Regions from separate parts of the Homo sapiens genome. Here region 2 is linked to region 1. The links are contacts of gene promoters, found by promoter capture Hi-C in blood cells and fetal thymus (Javierre and others, 2016). All regions are on one chromosome and are shown on one strand. Each heading gives the region's core, a stretch centred on a gene start or on the middle of the fragment in contact. The rest is flanking DNA. Distances are from core to core; before and after follow the strand shown.

What was found. The method cuts DNA at HindIII sites, captures the fragments that hold promoters and counts their contacts. A CHiCAGO score of 5 or more calls a contact.
Region 2: a fragment that was not itself captured here is called in contact with the fragment with the promoter of OR1G1 in region 1 in 1 of 17 cell types (endothelial precursors); the score reaches 5.3 in endothelial precursors.

What each region holds. Positions count from the first base shown.
Region 1 is chr17:3,125,316-3,129,292 of GRCh38, reverse strand. OR1G1 (olfactory receptor family 1 subfamily G member 1) reads left to right here and starts at 1,742. Exons shown (of 1, transcript NM_003555.1): 1 at 1,742-2,683. The coding sequence starts at 1,742. The coding sequence ends at 2,683. The HindIII fragment of the contact is 3,090 bases long and covers 707-3,796 here.
Region 2 is chr17:3,089,209-3,092,933 of GRCh38, reverse strand. OR1D2 (olfactory receptor family 1 subfamily D member 2) reads left to right here. Exons shown (of 2, transcript NM_002548.3): 2 at 1-3,725. The coding sequence ends at 876. Among named protein-coding and RNA genes, the nearest start is that of OR1D2, 13 kb to the left of the region's middle. The HindIII fragment of the contact is 878 bases long and covers 1,585-2,462 here.

The sequences.
Region 1 (3,977 bases), core at 493-2,992:
CTAACAAAAAGGTTGGCTGGGTGTGGTGGCTCATGCCTGTAATCCCAGCACTTTGGGAGGCCGAGGCAGGTGGGTCACCTGAGGTCAGGAGTTCAAGTCCAGCCTGGCCAATGTGATGAAACCCCATCTCTACTAAAAATACAAAAAAAAAAAAAAAAAAAATAGCCAGGTGTGGTAGCAGTGGCCTGTAATCCCAGCTACTCAGGAGGCTGAGACAAGGGAATCACTTGAGCCCAGCAGGTGGAGACTGCAGTGAGCTGAGTTCGTGCTACTGCACTCCAGCCTGGGTGACAGAGTGAGACTCCATCTCAAAAATCATAACAATAATAATAAAGGTTCAGGCTAATTCTTATGCCTGATATTACCTCTATAGCAAAGCCCCTTTCCATTCTTCCCACTCTTTCCATTCTCTGGGGTTTATGTATTTACATGATAGATTCATACTGAGCATCTGTGTTGTACCAGCCTCAAGGCTAATGCTAGATTTCAAAGCTGAGCCAATTAGGCACCATCTCTGCCTACTCCCAGTGATGCTCACAGCAGAATGAGGGACACTCATATAAACAGACACTCAGAATCCAAGGTGACACGTGCTGTGATGGGGGAGGCACTGCATTAGGAAGGTCACGAACCTGAGTTTCTGGTGAGAGGATGAGTTGGGAAAGACTTCCCAGAAGAGGTGACATCTAAGGTGAGACCTGAAGCTTAGCTCGTCTGATAAATGGGATGGGAAAAACTATTTCAGCCTGAGAAAGCCTAAAGGTGAGGGAGTATCTGGGCCTTTAAAATAATTGAAACTATGATTAGTGCATAAAGTGTGGAGTGGAGGAGGGAGTTTCATGAGGAACTGGGGATGTCTGTAATAAATGACGGTAAGATCCAGGACATTCAGCCGTGTTCAGTTTAGAGTTTATCCTGGGAGTAATGAGGAGTGTATGAAGGATTTTTCAAGCAGAAAGACAAGAGTCGAATTTGATTTTTAGCAAGCCTATTCTCTGTGTATTTAGAACAGCAGGTGGCAGGTGGGCATACCTGGGGGCATGGAGATCAACTGCCCAAATCCAAGTGAGAAATCACAGTGCCCTGAATGACATGAGCTGCAGCTGGGACTGATGGTGACCAGTAAACAGAGAGACGTCAGTAAATTGTAGCCATATTGAGAAGGTAAAATTGCCAGGCTTTGGTGGTGGTTGGATGTAGGCAGGGAGGGAGAAACGTGGGTCAATAATGACGCTCAGGTTTCTGGCCAGACCCGCTGTGTAGATAACAGTGATAATGATTTCCATGTTAGCCATGCTTTTCCCAATTCCAAAACCCCTTTCCAGGAGCTGTCTTTTTAATTATTGGTACAATGGGCTCATTTGACCTGTAAAATCTTGGGTTGTATAAATGTCATAGTTTCTACATGAACACTACCAGAGCAAAGCCAGCAAGCCCCTCCAGCCCAGCCCCAAAATACACATATTGGCTTAATGCTTATGGAATAAATTTAAAAGCCTCTCATTGCATTACAAACAAATCTGTGGTTTCTCATAGCACCAAGCACAGGAATTTGCAAATATTTAGTCGAACCCTATGAAATGGCCATTTTTGCAGGTCCCAAAGAGTCAAATAGTGGAGATTTCCTATGATCCAACCTCACACTAGAAGATCAACACTGGAATATTGCATAATTTTCAGAGTTCACAATCCAGGGCTTACCAACGTCACCCAATTAACCCAACTTTCTTCCTACAGACAAATGGAGGGGAAAAATCTGACCAGCATCTCAGAATGTTTCCTCCTGGGGTTCTCTGAGCAGCTGGAGGAGCAGAAGCCCCTCTTTGGGTCCTTCCTGTTCATGTACTTGGTCACGGTGGCAGGCAACCTCCTCATCATTCTAGTCATCATTACTGACACTCAACTCCATACCCCCATGTACTTCTTTCTAGCCAACCTCTCCCTTGCAGATGCCTGCTTTGTGTCCACCACAGTCCCTAAGATGCTGGCAAACATACAGATCCAGAGTCAGGCCATCTCCTACTCAGGGTGTCTACTACAGTTGTATTTTTTCATGTTATTTGTGATGCTGGAGGCATTCCTCTTGGCGGTCATGGCCTATGACTGCTACGTGGCCATATGCCACCCACTTCATTACATTCTGATCATGAGCCCTGGGCTCTGCATCTTCCTCGTGTCTGCATCCTGGATCATGAATGCCCTCCACTCCCTTCTACACACACTTCTGATGAACAGCCTGTCCTTCTGCGCAAACCATGAGATCCCACACTTCTTCTGTGACATCAATCCCCTCCTGAGTCTGTCCTGCACAGACCCCTTCACCAATGAGCTGGTGATCTTCATCACTGGGGGTCTCACAGGACTCATTTGTGTGCTTTGCCTGATTATCTCTTACACGAACGTTTTCTCGACCATCCTGAAGATCCCATCAGCTCAGGGGAAGCGGAAAGCCTTTTCCACCTGCAGCTCTCATCTCTCCGTGGTCTCTCTCTTCTTTGGGACTTCTTTTTGTGTTGATTTCAGTTCTCCCTCAACCCACTCGGCCCAGAAGGACACAGTTGCATCAGTGATGTACACAGTGGTAACTCCAATGTTGAATCCCTTTATCTACAGTTTGAGGAACCAAGAAATAAAGTCTTCCCTGAGAAAGTTAATCTGGGTTCGGAAAATTCATTCCCCTTAGTGGTAGTGACTTGACATCCAATATGGGGGTCTCCATGCACCTGCGTTCACCACAGTAAGCAGTGAAGAATGAAAGATGGAGAGAATCTAGAGACCTCTGTTCCAGTACCTACGATCTGAACCTGAAATATTCATGTCTAAGCTACAGGACTGCATCATAACCCATCATCAGGCCAATGTCACAGGTGAAGTTCTTACAATTATGTTCTAAAACCACAGCCATCCAGATGTATAATATAATGTCATGCCTTATTATATTTACTATAGTTAATAATATTGATGATTTAATAATGTTATTAGTTAATGCTTTTTAAACAACATGGGACAGCTCATGACTGAAATAAGGGAATATCTGGCTGGGCTGTTGTATAGGGCCAAGAATAAAATTCAGGGAAGGACGACCTTCCCCCAGCATCACTGTGATCCTGATCACTCGGATCCCCACCCACAGTGTTTCTGCCACAGGCACTGCCCGTATCTGTGATGCTCCCATGCTCAGTGATGAGGAACTGGGTCTAGGAAGGGCTTGATGGAGATGGCATCTTCAGACAGACTCACTGCAGTGTCTTACCAGGCCTCCAAGACCCATAATCCTCCTGCCACCTTAGACTTCATGTGAAAACCTCAGGTTCCTCTTCAGGGCAATTTTTTCCACACTCATTTCATCTCTGCAGCCCCAATGCTTACCACATGGCGTAATGCCTGGTACCATTGATAGGTGCTGAATCCCACTGAAATGGTTACAACTTAAAGTTAGGGGAAAAGAATGATTTTTATGGACACTTTATGCTCTCCTGCCTGAATGATTAAAGCCTCCTCCTAGTTGGTCTTCAGTCCTCAGTCTACCCGCCTTCCATCAACTCTGTACACCATAATCAGATTAATCTTCATAGGGTACCATTATATCACTAAGAGAAATGTCCAGTGGCTTGAAACTGCCTGCAGAATCAACTTCCAGCTGTTTACCGTAGCATGCGAGCCCAGTGCCACCAGTTCATAACTGATGTCCACAGTTAACCACACTCTTCCGTATTTCTCCCAAGGTCAACTCAGGCCAACGGTTTCAGAATACATTGATTATTGTGCATGGTTGCCAAAAACGACTTGGAAAGCTTTGTCAGTAGACGTTGTGGCAAGACTCTGTACAGTACGTTACAGCCACAACCAATACGTTTCTATAGGAAAATAAAATGTCACAACTGGGTGCTGTTTTTCATTCTTGTTGTCTGTTTACCTTCAGGTATCTGACTGCAGGCTGCTGTGCCATAGATGGTAATTGCTGTAGATAATAGCAA
Region 2 (3,725 bases), core at 774-3,273, 37 kb after region 1:
GAGCAGCAGCGGATCCTGTTTTGGATGTTCCTGTCCATGTACCTGGTCACGGTGGTGGGAAATGTGCTCATCATCCTGGCCATCAGCTCTGATTCCCGCCTGCACACCCCCGTGTACTTCTTCCTGGCCAACCTCTCCTTCACTGACCTCTTCTTTGTCACCAACACAATCCCCAAGATGCTGGTGAACCTCCAGTCCCATAACAAAGCCATCTCCTATGCAGGGTGTCTGACACAGCTCTACTTCCTGGTCTCCTTGGTGGCCCTGGACAACCTCATCCTGGCTGTGATGGCATATGACCGCTATGTGGCCATCTGCTGCCCCCTCCACTACACCACAGCCATGAGCCCTAAGCTCTGTATCTTACTCCTTTCCTTGTGTTGGGTCCTATCCGTCCTCTATGGCCTCATACACACCCTCCTCATGACCAGAGTGACCTTCTGTGGGTCACGAAAAATCCACTACATCTTCTGTGAGATGTATGTATTGCTGAGGATGGCATGTTCCAACATTCAGATTAATCACACAGTGCTGATTGCCACAGGCTGCTTCATCTTCCTCATTCCCTTTGGATTCGTGATCATTTCCTATGTGCTGATTATCAGAGCCATCCTCAGAATACCCTCAGTCTCTAAGAAATACAAAGCCTTCTCCACCTGTGCCTCCCATTTGGGTGCAGTCTCCCTCTTCTATGGGACACTTTGTATGGTATACCTAAAGCCCCTCCATACCTACTCTGTGAAGGACTCAGTAGCCACAGTGATGTATGCTGTGGTGACACCCATGATGAATCCCTTCATCTACAGCCTGAGGAACAAGGACATGCATGGGGCTCTGGGAAGACTCCTAGATAAACACTTTAAGAGGCTGACATGAGGGCAATTTGGAAAGACAGCATTAAAGTGGAGACTAGGAATATCCTTCACCCTATGTAAGGGATTGTCCTGTGTGTTATACAGCAGTGATTGGGACATGGCTCCAGCTCAGAGACAGCATATAGATATGTGGTGATAAAAAAGACATATTTGTAACCTGGTGTCCCCCAGGTCTCATCAGCCTTGGCCGTAAATAAGGTCACACTAACACCAACACTAGAATGTTGCAGGGTCAAATTCTTCAATGTACTTGACTACAGGGCCACATTCTTGGCCTTATCTGACTATATCCAGTTTAAACCTAGAAGTGTCTCTCATCTAGCACACATCCAAAGTACAGAAAGTAAATAGTAGCTGATAAGAAAGTTAGTCACATGGCTGTGGAGGTTTGAAAGAGATTGCAATCATACATATTTGTATCAGCTGATCCAGCACGTGATATAGACCTCGACAGGTGGTGTTCAATTCATTTGACATTCATGCAGTCATTCATCAACTCATTCTATTCATAATGACAGTGTACAGAGGCCTCAAACTGGGTTACAAATGTGAGGTCACAGTCTACTCGGGGAAGTACATAAATTTACATTAAACATAAATGGACCTAACTCATCAATTAAAAAGTAATGTTCAACATACTGATTAAAAAATAAAATATAGATAGATGTATTTAAAGAGACACGATGAAAGCACAGGAATATATAAAGCTTGAAATTAAAAAGAGAAACAGACATATTTGGAAAATACTAAATATTTTAAGTGAAATATTGCTGCAATGACATCAGGTAAAAGATATTTCAAAACGGGTGAAAGGAGTGATGTCAACAAGATGGTGGAATCGACAGTTGTATCTCTCATCCACCAACATACAGACTAATTTATCAACCATCCACAGATGAAAATACCTTTGTGAGAGCTCCAGAATCCAAGTGAAAGTTTATAGCACCCTGGTAGTACACAGAAGTAGAAAAAACACCATATTGAACATTGTAGAAAAAACTCTGTCACATTACCTGAATCACCCCTCACCCAAGCCAGCACAGAGTAGCACAAAGAGAGATCCCCTCATCTCATGAGTTCTTCCATAAGTAAAAAAGAAAATAAAACATATGTACAACTTCCCCTGACTTTCAGGATGCTAACCAAGAGGACCACTTCTGTCATGCCTCACCAAGAATACTGAGGCAATTCACATGGCCAGACCCCTCTGAGTAGCTAAGAACAAGAAAAAAAAAAAATAAGAAAATGGTTGGGAGCTCTTAATAGTCAGTATGTGTATTTTAACAACTGGGGCCTTGCACCCTACAGTGGGCCTGTGCATGGTGCCCAGAAGCTGGCCCATCCACCCACATCCCCAAGCACTAGGCCTGCCTGCCCATAGACCCTGCCAACTGGCCAGCCCAGAATATCTGGCTAAGCTGACTGGTGAAAAACAGTTCCTATCAAATTGGACTTTCCCTATCAAAACCAGCCTGTAAAGACTAAAAGAGATGACTGCTTCTTCAAATGTGCAAACACAAATGTGAAGCTACAGGAAACACAAGGAATCAAGGAAACTTAGCAAAGCCAAAGGAACAAAATAAAGCTTCAGAAACCATCAAAGAAATGGAGAAATATGAACTGCCTGACAAAGAATTCAAGTGATCATTTGAAGAAACATGGTGACCCACACAAAAACACAGGTAAACTACTAAACAAAATCAGGAAATCAATACATAAATAAAATGTAAATTTCAACAAACAGAAACCACAAAAAAGAAACAGTAATTCTGGAGCTAAATAATACAATGACTAAACTTTAAAAAACTCAAAAGAGCTTCAGCAGCAGATATGAAGAAACAGAAGAAAGAATTCACTACTCAAAAACAGGTCATTTGAAAGTACTAGTAAGAGAAACAAATGGAAAAAGAGTGAAGAAAGCCTATGGGACATATGGGACCCATCAAACAAATACACACATTACATAAGTATCAGAAGGAAAAGTGAAAGAAAAGGAGGCAGAAAACTTATTTTTCTAAAAATGGCTATTCACAGCAGCCACCACAGGCAGGAAAACAGAAACCTGAAAGTGCTGCTTGCTTTCTCAACAGGGAGACTTGCAGCCTGGAACAAGTTTTCAGCCCTGCTCACCAGCTACCCGGAAATAAACTCAGCACTGTTAGGGGTAGGGCACATTGGGAGTGACATGGCCACTTGGACAGCATGGGAGCTGGGTGAGGCCTATCACTGCTGGCTTTCCACCACTTCCCTGGCAACCTGTATGACACAGCAGAGGCAGCCATAATCCCCATGGGAACATAACTTCATTGGCCTGTTAACCACACCCCCATCCCTCACAGTGGCCACAGCAAGCCCCACCGAAGGAGAGTCGGAGCTCACACATGCCTAACCCTGCCCCAACCTAATGGTCTTTCTCTACGCACCCTGGTAGCCGAAGACAAAGGGCATAATCTCTTGGGAGCTCTATGGTCCCACTCACCACCTGAGAAACTGGAATACTTATCCAGGCCACCTTAGGGCAAGTTTGTATCCCCCCTATGCTACCACAGCTGGTGCACTCTTGAAAGGACCACCTCTTGGCTGGAGGCCAACTAGTACACTAAACAAAACTTCAACCAAGGACCATAGACTCCTAGATAAACACTTGGACCATGAGAGTTCACTTTACTCCACTGCTACCTCCACTGGACCAGGCACTGGTATCCATGCCTGAGGGACTGAAGACAGATCACATCACAGGACTCTTCACAGACACCCCCCAGTACCAGCTCAGAGCCCAGAAGCTCTGTTGGATGGCTAGACCAGCAGAGAAATAACAATCATTGCAGTTTGGCTCTCAGGAAGCCCCAT